2 separate regions of the Homo sapiens genome follow, and region 1 is linked to region 2. The links are contacts of gene promoters, found by promoter capture Hi-C in blood cells and fetal thymus (Javierre and others, 2016). All regions are on one chromosome and are shown on one strand. Each heading gives the region's core, a stretch centred on a gene start or on the middle of the fragment in contact. The rest is flanking DNA. Distances are from core to core; before and after follow the strand shown. Region 1 has its middle 28 kb from the start of LINC01372. Region 2 holds the start of GPC2 (glypican 2).

Region 1 (6,619 bases), core at 1,096-3,595, about 33 Mb before region 2:
GTCAGTGCCTTGTTTCTTTATATGTTTTACTAGGTTTATTGTGAGCCACTCATTTTCCCTGGAGTTCTTTGGGGCCTAGGTCAAAGGTGGGTTTTTTTTTTTTTGAGACCGAGTCTCGCTCTGTCACCCAGGCTGGAGTGCAGTGGTGTGATCTCTGCTCACTGCAAGCTCCGCCTCCCGGGTTCAGGCCATTCTCCTGCCTCAGCCTCCCGAATAGCTGGGACTACAGGCACCTGCAACCATGCTGGCTAAATTTTTGTATTTTTAGTAGAGATGGGGTTTCACCATGTTAGCCAGGATGGTCTCGATCTCCTGACCTCATGATCCGCCTGCCTCGGCCTCCCAAAGTGCTGGGATTACAGGTGTGAGCCACCGCGCCTGGCCCCAAAGGTGGGTTTTCAAGAGAGGAACGTGCTGTTGCTTTGACAGTTGCCTGGGGACACTCCAGAATCACTTTTCTTTTCTTTTTTTTTTTTTTTTGAGACAGGTTCTCATTCTTTCTAGGCTGGAGTGCAGTGGTGCTATCACGGCTCCCTGCTGATTTGACCTCCCTCAGTGGCAAGGTGGTGACCCTCCCACCTCAGCTTCTCGCATAGCTGGGACTATAGGCATGTGCCACCATGCCTGACTAATTATTCTGTTTTTGGTAGACCAGCCTGGGCAACATGAGTTTCACTTTACTTGGGTTACTGCTCCCAGCCTGAATCACTTTTAATTATCTGAATGATTATTCTGGGCTGGGTGTGGTGGCTCATGCCTATAATCCAAGCACTTTGGGAGGCTAAGGTGGGCCTCACTTGAGGTCAGGAGTTCGAGACCAGCCTGGCCAATATGGTGAAACCCTGTGTCTACTAAAAATACAAAAATTAGCCATTAGCCAGGCGTGGTGGCACATACCTGTAATCCCAGCTACTCGGGAGGCTGAAGCAGGAGAATGCTTGAACCTGGGAGGTGGAGGTTGTAGTGAGCTGAGATCTCGCCATTGCGCTCTAGCTTGGGCTACAGAGTGAGACTGTCTCAAAAAAAAAAAAAAACAAAAGGAAAAGATAAAAAAGATTATTCTGATCATGTATGTGGTATGAATCTTGACTGCAAATCCAGATCTGAGCGCTCACTATGGTTATGAATTCTCAAGGAGGAGTTATTTTTTTTCCCCTCCACTGCACCCTCAGGTCATAACAAGCTAGTTTTCTTGCTGTCGCCATCTGCCCTATAGGTTTAGTGTTCAATCTCACTTCCTTGAGGATGTGACTCTTTGCAGGACCCAGCTTTATTTAGGTGCCTCCTCTTGGACTACTCGTCTTGGAAGAAGCTTAGACTCTACCTCCTGTGCTCTGCACTCCATGCAGCCATCTGGATACAAAGTCAGGGTCCCCAGGGATTAATGAAACCTTTAGGGCAAAAGTCAGTTTGCTTACCTCCCAGGGTTGCTACTACACCTCATTTTTGGACTATATGAAATTTTACCTTTCATTCTAGTTCACCAGTACATTGTGAAAGATGTTTTAAATGTTTTACAGAAGTTTAGATGGTTCAACTGGGAAGATCATATAGGATTTCTGTTCTGTTATATTGCCAGAAGTAGAAGTCATCTGTATTTTTTTTTTACTAGTCTTTGGTAGATGAGTGGCTGGATAGCTACAAGCAAGACCAGGATGCAGGATTTCTGGAGCTTGTTAACTTTTTCATCTGATCTTGTGGATGTAAAGGTGAGGAAACTGCTCCCCCTTTCTAATTCCCAGCCTTTTGTTCCTATGTTATGAATTCTTTCTCCATTTAGATAAGTAGGATTAGATATTTCCTAAATAAAGGAAGATAGTAAAGCATTAGAAAAATTTTACTTATTTAGGCTGGGCACTGTGACTCACACCTGTAATCCCAGCACTTTGGGAAGCTGAGGCGGGTGGATCACTTGAGGTCAGGAGTTGAAGACCAGCCTGGGCAACATGGTGAAACCCCTACTAAAATACAAAAAATTATCTGGGTATGTGGCTCATGCCTGTAGAATTGCTTGAACCCAGGAGGTGGAGGTTATAGTGAGCCTGGATAGCGCCACTGCACTCCAACCTGGGCGACAGAGCCAGACTGTCTTCAAAAAAAAAAAAAAGAGAGAGAAAAGTTTCACTTCTTTAACTAAATTTTTTGTTGATAAATACGGGAAGTGATCCAGTAGGGAACCATGTTGGTTTAGAGACAAGAAACTTTGGGGAAAAAGAAGTAATCATGCTTATGTTATGGCACAAATTTGAGGACACCTTTTAGTCTTTCTAGATGCAATAATCTGTTATTTTCTTACTCTTTATTTCCCAGCTACTTTGCCCATATTTCTCCTCTGTAGCTGTGGTACCCCCAGAACTCTTACTGCCATGGCTTGATTTATTGGGACAGATGGTCTCAGTCAGGTTGTATTATATAAGAAATCAGCGTCTGGCTTAGTTTTATTACTCTCTTTTGTTTTGTTTTGTTTTGTTTTTGTTTTTGTTTTTGAGACAGAATCTCACTCGATTGTCCAGGCTGGAGTGCAGTGGCACGATCTGGGCTCACTGCAACCTCTACATCCTGGGTTTAAGTGATTCTCATGCCTCAGCCTCTCAAGTGGCTGGGATTACAAGCATGTGCCACCATATGTGGCTAATTTTTTTTTTTTTCTTTGAGACGGAGTCTGGCTCTGTCGCCCAGGCTGGAGTCCAGTGGCACAATCTCGGCTCACCGCAACCTCCGCATCCCAGGTTCAAGTGATTCTTCTGCCACAGCCTCCTGAGTAGCTGGGACTACAGGTGTGCACCACCATGCCTAGCTAATTTTTGTATTTTTAGTAGAGACAGGGTTTCACCATATTGGCCAGGCTGGTCTTGAACTCCTGACCTCGTGATCCGCCCATCTCACCCTCCCAAAGTGCTGGGATTACAGGCTTGAGCCACTGCGCCCGGCCTACGTGGCTAATTTTTGTATTTTTAGTAGAGATGGGGTTTCGCCAGGCTGGTCTTGTACTCCTGACCTCAGGTGATTCACCTGCCTCGGCCTCCCAAAGTGTTGGGATTACAGGCGTTAGCCATCGCGCCTGGCCTGTTTTGTTGTTGTTGTTGTTTTGTTGTTGTTTATTTTGGGGCACAGTTTTTCACTGCTTGATTCCTTTTTTTTTTTTAAACAAATCCTGCCTCAGGTTTATTTGTACAAATAGTGCAGGAGGACACCAGTCCTTCTGTCCTCACGTTGGCAGACAGAGATCTCTACTCTGAAGCCTTTGTACAGGCCTGGGCACCTTTGGGAGCCTGAGCTGGAACTGAAGCTGGAGCTGCAGCCTGGGCCTTCATTTGATCCTTGGCCTTTGGCTGGTACAGTCTGAGCCCCTTGGCATTGTGGGCACAAGCATGCTTCTCAAGCTTGGGGTGGGCAGTGTAGGCAAGTGGGCTTAACGTCCTTGGGCTTTACGAGGGGCTCGATAGCCTCGGCATGTACACCCATGACCCTGGCATTGTTGCCCTGCATCTTCTTTTTTTTTTTGTTTTGCTTTTTTTGTTTTGAGACAGAGTCTCACTTGTTGCCCAGGCTGGAGTGCAGTAGTGCGATCTCAGCTCACTGCAACCTCTGCCTCCCGGGTTGAAGCAATTCTCCTGCCTCAGCCTCCCGAGTAGCTGGGATTACAGGCACCCGCCACTACGCCCAGCTCATTTTTTCCATTTTTAGTAGAGAACTGGGTTTCATCATGTTGGCCAGGCTGGTCTAGAATTCCTGACCTTGTGATTCTCCTGCCTCGGCCTCCCAAAGTGCTGGGATTACAGGCTTGACCGACTGCGCCCGGCCAGCCTGCATCTTCTTTAGGCCCTTCTTGTTGTGCTTCTTGGCAAAGCACATATTCCTCAGGAACTTGGGGTCCATCCCCTTAAGAGAGTTGTATCTTTGTGATTGGGGTTTCTTGATGCCATTTCTGTGTAATTTTCAGCCTGGTTGTGTGAGGTGTGGTTTTTGGATTTGGCCGTGTCTACACCATAACCTATGGCTCCCTTCCTTTGGGTTTTTAGAGAGATTGCCTTATAGCAGATACACAGTTGGATGTTGGCAGACCGTTGACCAGGGGGTCTTTTGATTCCCCACCTAAGCTCTTTGCACAGTGTTTCCTTGCTCATATTCAGGTATATCTGTAAATGATCACAGCATCCTGTTATTTTCCTCGTAAGCACCTCATATCCTTCATTCTTTAGGCACTGTGAGCCCTGAGATGTTCAAGAAGATGTCCAACTCAGAGATCATCCAGCACCTAACAGAGCGTTTAATGAGGTGGAAGAAGATGACCAGGATCCTCTTACCCCTCTTATTTCAAAACACAATGCCTATTATCCCCTTCTTTTTGATTCTGTGAAATAGGGTAGCTTTTAGAAGGTGGAGTTCAGTCTCTTGGGGGTAAAAGAGATCTGAATATGCCTCTCAAACTGGGGAGACAGCTAGGAAATGAAGCATAACAGATATTTTTACTAGACTGTTGGGTTTTGACATCCAAGCCCCTATGACTTCATATACCTGGTCATAACTTTCCCATCCTTTTCATACATCCTTTTGTAGGACTCGGGGGACTATCCTCTGACAGCTCCAGGTCTATCCTGGAAGAAGTTCCAGGGCAGCTTCTGTGAGTTTGTGGGGACATTGGTCTGTCGGTGCCAGTACATCCTCCTCCATGATGACTTCCCTATGGACAACCTCATCTCCCTGCTCACTGGCTTCTCAGACTCACAAGTCTGCGCCTTCTGTCACACTAGCACCCTGGCTGGTGAGCATTCATTTTCATTCCGGACATTCTTCTGGGGATTTATAGGACTTTCCTCTGTTCTCTGATTCAGGGTCTTCTTTCCTACCTGTGTCTTGGCTCTTCACTTCAAGGCCATGCCTCTTTTATCCTAAACTTCAATCCAGTTTCTCACTGGTGGAGTTTTGAGAAGGGGTAGATCACAGCAACAATTTCCAGGCTTAGTATTTTTGTCAGAGCTCACCACTAGGGTATGCTGATGGTTAAAAGAAGACCACAAGGGTTAGAGGGAAACAGTCCACTCCAGGACAGGCAGTCAGGATTTTAGGGTCACCTACCTCTGGCTTCTCATTTTTATTGCCCTTCTTTCCTTCTATTTTTCCTTCTACTCATCCTCTCTCCTCTGACCTCAGTAATGATTTCTTTATCTCTTTTTCCTTACTCAAAGCTATGAAACTGATGACCTCCCTGGTAAGAGTTGCCCTCCAACTGAGTCTGCACGAAGATATCAATCAGCGTCAGTATGAGGCTGAAAGAAACAAGGGGCCAGGGCAGAGGGCACCTGAGCGGCTGGAGAGCCTGTTGGAGAAACACAAAGAGGTGAGGAGTGTTCCCTGCTTCTTCCTTCCCTTTTTCCCAACTTGCACCCACTTCTGCCACAGACCCCCTTATCAGGCCCTGGGCAGTCTTTCAAGATCATGAATAACGGAGTCTGGCAATAGTTTCATAGACCCATCCTGTAAGGGCTCATTGCAATGCTCACCTTTTTTCTGGGTTGTGGGCTCAACAAATAATGTGTAATTTAGAGTTCTCTCGAATTCCACTTTTGCTCAGTTTTTCTTTGTCAGCACTTATTGTCAGAAGAGTTTAAGTGCTGTACCTGCCTGTCATGCAAGGAATTAAGTTTTGACCTACTCGTCAAGTGTGCAGTGTGCAAGTGACCGCAGGAGTACTAAAAGCCAACCATTGACAAGGGAGGCCAAATTTTCAAGGAATGGAAAGAGCACAGGCCTTCCAGTGAACTCCTGGCTTTAAATTCTGTTCCATTTAGTCACTAGCTCCATAGCCTTATGTAACCTCTCTTCAGTTTTCTTTTCTTTAAAGAAAGGGATAATCTCACCTTTTTGTGAAGAATAAATGAGATGATGAGTAAATTGCCTCACTTGGCACATAGTAGTTTTGTTTCCTTTTAAACTTAAAGATGACCACTGGAGGGCATAAGCCATAGCAAAATCTTTGACACTGATGAAATCTTTAATCAGCTGGGTCTGTCATAAGAGTAACACTACTGTTTTTCTCCTTACTTTCTGTTAGTGTCTGAGACCCCTCCTATGAGGTTGGCAGGACTCACCATGTCTGACCATATCATTTGGCTATTTCTCTAGCCCTCACAAAAGGTCTCTTCCATTCTAAATCATTAGAGAAGGAAACTTTCTACTTCTCTCATTCTCTTTTGTTATTTTTAATTGTCAGTTTGATCTTAAAAGCTTATGTGTATTAATCTATCCTGGATTTTAAATTATGTACACTGTGAATCTTTCTTTTATTTTTCTTATTCTTTCTTTTTTTTTTGGCTTCTCTGGGCTCTTGCTTAGTCAATTATCATTGTAATTCCCCCATTTTATCCTTAATTTCTTCCTCCCCACTATTTTCTTCTCTCCACTTATAAATGTATATAGGCTCTTGAATCTTTATTTGACTCTGCTCCTCTGTGAATTACTCTTTTTTTCCATCCTTCCTTTTAGGGTAGTATTTCCTTACTTCCTTAATGTCCAACTAACTGAATCCTTTTTGCTACCTAGCTTATTTTCCCATTTTTCTTTGAAACTGTTCTTTCCAAACCAATGACTTCCTAATTCCTAAAGCCAGTAGCCTTTT
Region 2 (6,554 bases), core at 2,238-4,737:
TTGAGGCAGAAGCCCTGGCAGGGCATAAGTGAGGGGACCCCCCGGCACAGGGGACAGCCGATGAGACGCATCAGAGCCTGGCTGCAGCCTTCAGACACCGGCACCTGGGGGCAGAGAGTGGGGCTGTGTCCTCCACAAACGCTGTGGCTGCTCTCAGCCTGGCTTGGTGCTGGGCACAGACAGAAATCACATACCCCACCCTACACCTAGGGTTGGTGACCCCACGTGGCAGCAGGTGAGATTGTCACAGATCTGAGGAGGGAGGTTCCAGGTTGCTGACTCTGATTCGTGGGAGGGGTGGAAATAGAGAGGCAGTTAGGGGTGGAGGGAACATTCAAGGACAAGAGTGAGCCCATCACAGCTGGGGAGGGAGGAGGCGGTCAGGAGGCAGAAGGTGAGGCTGGGAGGTCAGGTAGAGGATGGGCAGTGAGAGAGGCCAAGCCAGGCATCTGGCCTTCAGCAGCAGGGAAGTGGAGTCATTGAGGGATCCTGGGGGGTTGGGCGGGGGCAGTATCCAATCTCCTACTGCTATGGAGATGAGCAGGCCCTTGGGGACTGAGGAGGGTATGGGTCCACAGAGGGGAGGAGGGGGTCAGAGATCATGGATCGTGGACCATTGGAGGTTTCACTCCAGCCCCCTCCTTCCTAATTCATCCTAGGACACCAGGGCCTGGAGGCAGACAGAGCCCAAGGCCTGTCCTGCTGGCTGGTGGCTGTTTCTTCCTTGTGGGGTCTCTCTCACTTCCACCTCTCCCTCCCTGGGCCCTGCCCATACTCAGGCACCCTCCAACCTTAAGCGCTTCGCTGACCACATTTCTTCCAGTCTCCAGGCCCTGCACAAAGGCTCGGGCAGCCACCAGGGTCCGGGTTATCTGGGAGAAGGCAAAGAAGGTGAGAAAAACCACAAGGTTGTTATGGGTCAGTCAAGACTGGAGCCAAGAGACTGCATCAAGAGCAGTGAGGGTTGGGTGTGTGGGGTTCTCTCAGAGTGGGTCGAGTGTTGGGTGGTACAGAGAGGCAGGTTCAAGAGCCCCCACAGGAATTATAGTCTTAAAGAAAAACAAAGGAAGGCTTGGGAAGAGATGGAGGGATTATGTTGTACAGGGCTTAGAGAGAGAGAAATTGTGTATCGGAACTAACACTGAACTTGAAGCCAGAAGACCTGGGTGTGAGCCACGGCTCTGCCACTTACTGGCTGAAAAGCTTAATCTCTGGGAGCCTCAGTTTTCTCATCTGTAAAATAAGGGCATGACTGTCTACCTCACAGGGTTATGATGACAACTAAATGTGATACTATAAAAGAAAATGCCTTTTGCGTATTGAATGCACAATTCCTGTTTAGTTGAACCAGAGGAAGTCAAGGTGTTACGATTAGGAAGGGGTTGGCACAAAGGTGGCTGGAGGCTAAGGGCAGGTGAGTGTTTGTGTGAAACTAGGGCTCAGAATGGGAGGTGGCAGGGGTGGGGGCATCTGCTTCAAGAAGACCAAGGGGCACTGGGTCGGGCAGTGGTGAGTAAAGCTCAGGATAGGGATCACCAGGTCAGAAATGGCTTCAATGCAGGATGGGGGATCACCAGGTCAGAGGTGACTGGAGCACGCCAGTTTGGAGGTGAGTGGTGCACAGTTCAGGGGTCACTAGGTCAGAAGTGGTTGAAGCTCAGGCCTCAGGATCCCTCACCTGCAGGCGGAGGCGGCGGGGTGAGTCCCCAAAGGGCTGCAGAGAGCCATCGGTAGATGAGGCCAAGCGTGAGAGGCAGAGCAGGTAGTCAGGGGGGAAGCTGTACTGTGGGTGCAGCAGCGGGAACACTCTCTCCAGGAGCTGTGCCCAGAAATCCGCCAGGGTGTCATCCAACCCCTCACCAGATTCCCCATAGAAGTCTCGCAGCCGAGAGAACAGGCCATTGAATATGAGGGCGTGCTGGGCATACAGGCGGCCGTAGGAGTGGGAGAAGAGCTGGGTCAGAGAGTGCTGGGCTACTGAGAGCATCTCCAGAAAAAACTCTGCAGCAAATGCAGGGAACAGGTGGAAGGCAGGTCAGGCCAAAGAATGGGGAGAAAAGTGAACAGGCAGAGGCAGGAGGAGATGGGAGAGAAGAGAAAAGACAAGTGAATCAGAAACTGAGTAACTCTCAGAGATGGGGCAGACAGGGAATGGGGGAGGGCAGGGCCCTGGAGACAGAGTCTGGGGGGTGGGCGGGCTGGGAGGGGATGGAGTCTTCACAGATGGAGTAAGGAGTGGGGACAGGAGCCTTGCTGGGGTCCTAAGCACCGAGAGGAGCTGTGAAGCTGAGTTTGGGGACCCCAGGTCCTCACCATCAAATTTTCTGTGCCTGGCAGCCAGTGTGTGAACCAGAAAGGAGCCGCTGTCCTCCACCAGGCCTCGGAAGGTGGCCTCAGTCTCCCTGATCAGCCTCTGCTCTGTCTCACTGGAACAGCAGGTGTACTCCTGGGGACAGACCCGGAGGTGCTCACCTGGACAGAGGAGACGTGAAGGAATGGTGGGAAGTGATATCCTAAAATCCCTTCCATTTCCCGCCTATCTCTGGGGACTATGCCTTCTCTTCTACCTGCCTGGTCTCTTTTCTATTGTCTGCACCCTCTTCCCTACCTGAACCTATCCCCTACCTTATTGTCTCCTGACCCATCCCAAGTTCACTCCCATTAGCCACGGGATCATCTATTTAACAGCTGCCCTGAGGGCCAAGTCAGTGGTCAGAGTGTCCTCAGGTGACCCTCCCCAATGTCCACACCCCAGACCTCGAGGGACTTGGAGAACAGCTTCTAGGGGATGAAGAATGGGGCTTGGAAGGGTGGGGTTACTTGGTGAGCAATAAAGTATTCTCATAGAAGGGGCTAATAGAAACAGCGAGGAGAACATGGCTGTGAAGAAAGAAACACATAGGGGGTGTTAATTAGGAGGAGGGGATTCCTGGGGTGGGGATGGAGTAAGAGCGCTATTCTTTGCATAGGAGGGTTATTGTGATCCCGGTAAGGAAGTTACAGGAGGAGAACAGACATTACTGTGGGATGAAAAGATTAGTATAACGGTCACTCTGAAAAGGAAGAGAGTTATTGTGAGATGAGGAGGCCCCGCCCCCGCCCCCCACCCCCAATTCTCTAGTCTTCCTCTTTCTCCTCACCTGAGATCAGGGCGGGAGGGATTAGGTTTAAGCTATATCCCCGGGCCCCCAGCACCTGCCGGGTCTCTGCACAACTCCGGGTGACCTTTGCCTCGCTCCCGGGTCCGGGACCAGGACCGGGACACAGAGGCAGCAGCAGAAGCAGGAGAGGTCGCAGCGCGGACATAACTGCAGCCACCCCAGGACGGCAAAGTGGGTCCTAAGGAGGAAAGCAGAGCCTCCCAAACTCGGGAATCCGGTACTCGGCCGCGGGACCGCTCCGCGGGCCAGAGAAAGAGCGCTGCTCCGGAAAACTGAATACCGAGCACGATAGCTGGACCAGGCGGCATCTGCCGAGACAATGGGAGCGGGGAGCCGGACAGGGGGCGGGGCCCGAGGCGGGGCCCCGCCAATAATGGCTCGGAGCCGGCTTCAGGGGCGGGGGCAAGGAAGAAATTAAGCCAATGTAGCGCGGAAGCTCGGCAGGGGGGCGGGACCCGGCTGGCACTCAGGAGGTTGGTGAAATAGGGGCGTGGTCTCCCTCGGGGGCGTGGCGATCCGGCTCAAAAGGCGGGGCCTGGGTGGAACCTAGCCTATGGCAATTGAGAAGCCAGATTAAAGGGGTTACTAGCAGTCTGGTCCAAAACCCGCCCAATGGAGTAGGAGATTGAGGGTAGCGGGGGTGGGACCTGGGTGGGGGCGGGGCTAAAGCGGGCCGCCCGCGTGCCCAAGCCCACGTGAGAGGGCAGGACGCCTGAGAGCTTGAGGCCACACGAGGCTGTGGAGCGGCGTGACTCAAACGTGGCGCGCATCAGCTCGCACACTTCCAAACCTCGCGATAGCTACTGGCCCTGGGCGAGCCGTTGGGATTGCGCTTGCGCACAGCGTGTCTTGTACGTTCCCGCGCTTTTCTGGAATCTTTCGCCCCCGGAAGGGCAGCGGCGGGCGCCTGTGTGGAAGGTGGGGTGGCCAGAGACACCCGAGGGACCTGAGGTGGGGACCTTCCCTGAACCCTGCTCGGCCAGAAGTCACTCTTCCAGGCTCTGACAGGTTTCTCCTTGACCCAAGAATAGGCCCTCTCGCGACCCTCCCGGCCCTGACACTAGGAGCCTTCCCGGGCCGTGCCCCAATGGCCTCCGCCACAGAGCTGGAGAATCCTCTCCCCAGGCCTCCATAGACTGAGAGTCCATTCTCTTAAGCGCTTGGAAGGCTCTTTATCCTGGAGCCGCTTACCCCAGGGGCAGTCGTAGATATTTTTACCTTCTGGAAAAATAGGAAACGCGCACCTGCCTTTCCTCCTTTTGCGTTTCCAGCCCTATTCTCATGGCGCCTCCACCCCCAAATCCTTAAGAGCCTCCTGTTCCATTCCAGGTGGAATCAGGTGCTAGTCCTCTGGAAACGAAAGCCTGGGGTCTTCTTGTATTTTTTTTCTTATTTCTTTCTTTATTTTTTTTATTTCATTTTAAAAAACCTGTAAGTTCCCTTGCAGAGGGCGGTTTATACTTCCGAAGCCTCCAGAGAGGGGTGCGTCTGAAGCTGCCCTGCTGTCTGCCTTGCTTGGCTTTTTTTTTTTTTTCCATTTAATTTTTTTTTTTTAGAGACAGGGCGTTGCTATGTGGCCCAGGCTGATCTTGAATTCCTGGACCCAAGCGATGCTCCCGCTTCGCCCTCCCAAAGTACTGGGATTATAGGCGGGAGCACTGTGCACCACGCCTCGGCTTTTGGAGAGCAATTCCAAACCCACTGCCCAGTTTCTGGTGTCTGTAATCCCTTGGTGCTTTAGGTCCACTCTTTGCCTTATTTTATTTATTTGTCATTACTTTTTTTTTTTTTTGAGACAGAGTCTCGCTCTGTTTCCCAGGCTGGAGTGCAGTGGTGCAGTCATAGCTCGCTGCAGCCTCGACCTCCTGGGCTCAGGCGATCGTCCCGCTTCATTCTGCCGAGTAGCTGGGACTACAGGTGCACCACCACACCTGGCTAGTTTTTTTGGTTTTGGTTTGGTTTTTTCGTAGAGACAGGATCTTGCTATATTGCCCAGACTGATTTTGAACTCGTAGGGTTAGGCAGTCCTCCTGCTTCAGCTGCTCAAAGTGCTGGGATTCCAGGTTTGAGCCACCCTGGGCACCTTGCCTTTTTTTTTTTTTTTTTAATTATGAGTTAAATTCCCTTGCAGCAGGCAGTTTACACTTCTGAAGCCTCTAGAGAGGGCTGTGTCTGAAGCTGCCCTGGTGTGTACCTTGCTTGGGTTTTGTTTTTTTTTTTTTGGGTGTGTCTCATGTTGCCAAGGCTGGTCTCAAACTGCTGGGCTCAAGCAGTCCTCCTGTCTCAGCCTCCTGAGTAGCTGGGACCACAGGTGTGCGCAACAACACCTAGCTAGTTTTTGCTTATTTTTTGTAGAGATGGGGTCTTGCTATGTTGCCCAGATTGGTCTTGAACTACTGGGCTCAAGCAGTCCTCCCGCCTCAGCCGCCTAAAGTTCTGGGATTACAAGTATGATCTACCACACCCAGTGTGCAATTTTTTTTTTTAAAGAAAATACCTATGAGTTAAATTTCCTTGCAGTAGGCAGTTTGCACTTCCACAGCCTCTAGAGAGAGATGTGTCTGAAGCTACCCTGGTGTGTGACTTCCTCAGCTTTTGGAGAGCAACTCCAAACCTGCTGGCCAGTTTCTGGGGTGTTGTTGTGCTTAATCCCTTGATGCCTTAGGTCAGCTCTTTGTCTTATTTATTTATTTATTTTGAGATGGAGTTTCACTCTTGTTGCCCAGGCTGGAGTGCAGTGGCACGATCTCAGCTCACCACAACCTCCGCCTTCTAGGTTCAAGCGATTCTCCTGCCTCAGCCTCCCAAGTAGCTGGAATTACAGGCATATGCCACCACACCCGGATAATTTTGTATTTTTAGTAGAAATGGGGTTTCTCCATGTTGGTCAGGCTGGTCTCGAACCCCTGACCTCAGGTGATCTGCCTGCCTCGACCTCCCAAAGTGCTGGGATTACAGGCATGAGTCACTGTGCCCAGCCATTTGTCTTATTTATCATTACTATTTTTTTGAGGGGGGACAGGGTCTTCTTCTGTCACCCAAGCTGGATGGAGTACAGTGGTGCGATCGTAGCTCACTGCAGCCTTGAACTCCTGGACTCAAGCAATCCTCCCACCTCAGCCTCCTGAATAGCTGAATACAGGCATGCTCTACCACACCTGACTAATGATTATTATTATTTTTTTTTTAGAAATGGGGTCTTGCTGTATTGCCCAGGCTGGTCTTGAACTCCTGGGCTCAAGCCATCCTCCTGCCTTGGCCTCCCAAAGTGCTGGGATTATAGGCATGAGCCACGGTGCCCAGCCTTTGTCTTAGTTTTTGGTCCCCCTCACCTGACCCCAGAGTTCTAGAACCATTCCCTTGGAAAGAAAGGGACTGGTCAGGGCTGGGGAT

Evidence for each region. The method cuts DNA at HindIII sites, captures the fragments that hold promoters and counts their contacts. A CHiCAGO score of 5 or more calls a contact.
Region 1: a contact is called between a fragment that was not itself captured here and the fragment with the promoter of GPC2 in region 2, in 2 of 17 cell types (endothelial precursors and total CD4 T cells). The highest score is 17.1, in endothelial precursors.

Annotation. Positions count from the first base shown.
Region 1 is chr7:67,304,375-67,310,993 of GRCh38, forward strand. It overlaps the pseudogene STAG3L4. Among named protein-coding and RNA genes, the nearest start is that of LINC01372, 28 kb to the right of the region's middle. The HindIII fragment of the contact is 2,071 bases long and covers 1,311-3,381 here.
Region 2 is chr7:100,173,894-100,180,447 of GRCh38, forward strand. It overlaps GPC2 (glypican 2), which reads right to left and starts at 3,488. Exons shown (of 10, transcript NM_152742.3): 1 at 3,141-3,488; 2 at 2,314-2,472; 3 at 1,679-2,001; 4 at 792-872; 5 at 1-104. The coding sequence starts at 3,306. It overlaps STAG3 (STAG3 cohesin complex component), which reads left to right and starts at 4,025. Exons shown (of 34, transcript NM_001282717.2): 1 at 4,025-4,112. RefSeq lists silencers at 3,450-3,569, 3,750-3,799. The HindIII fragment of the contact is 8,320 bases long and covers 1,202-6,554 here.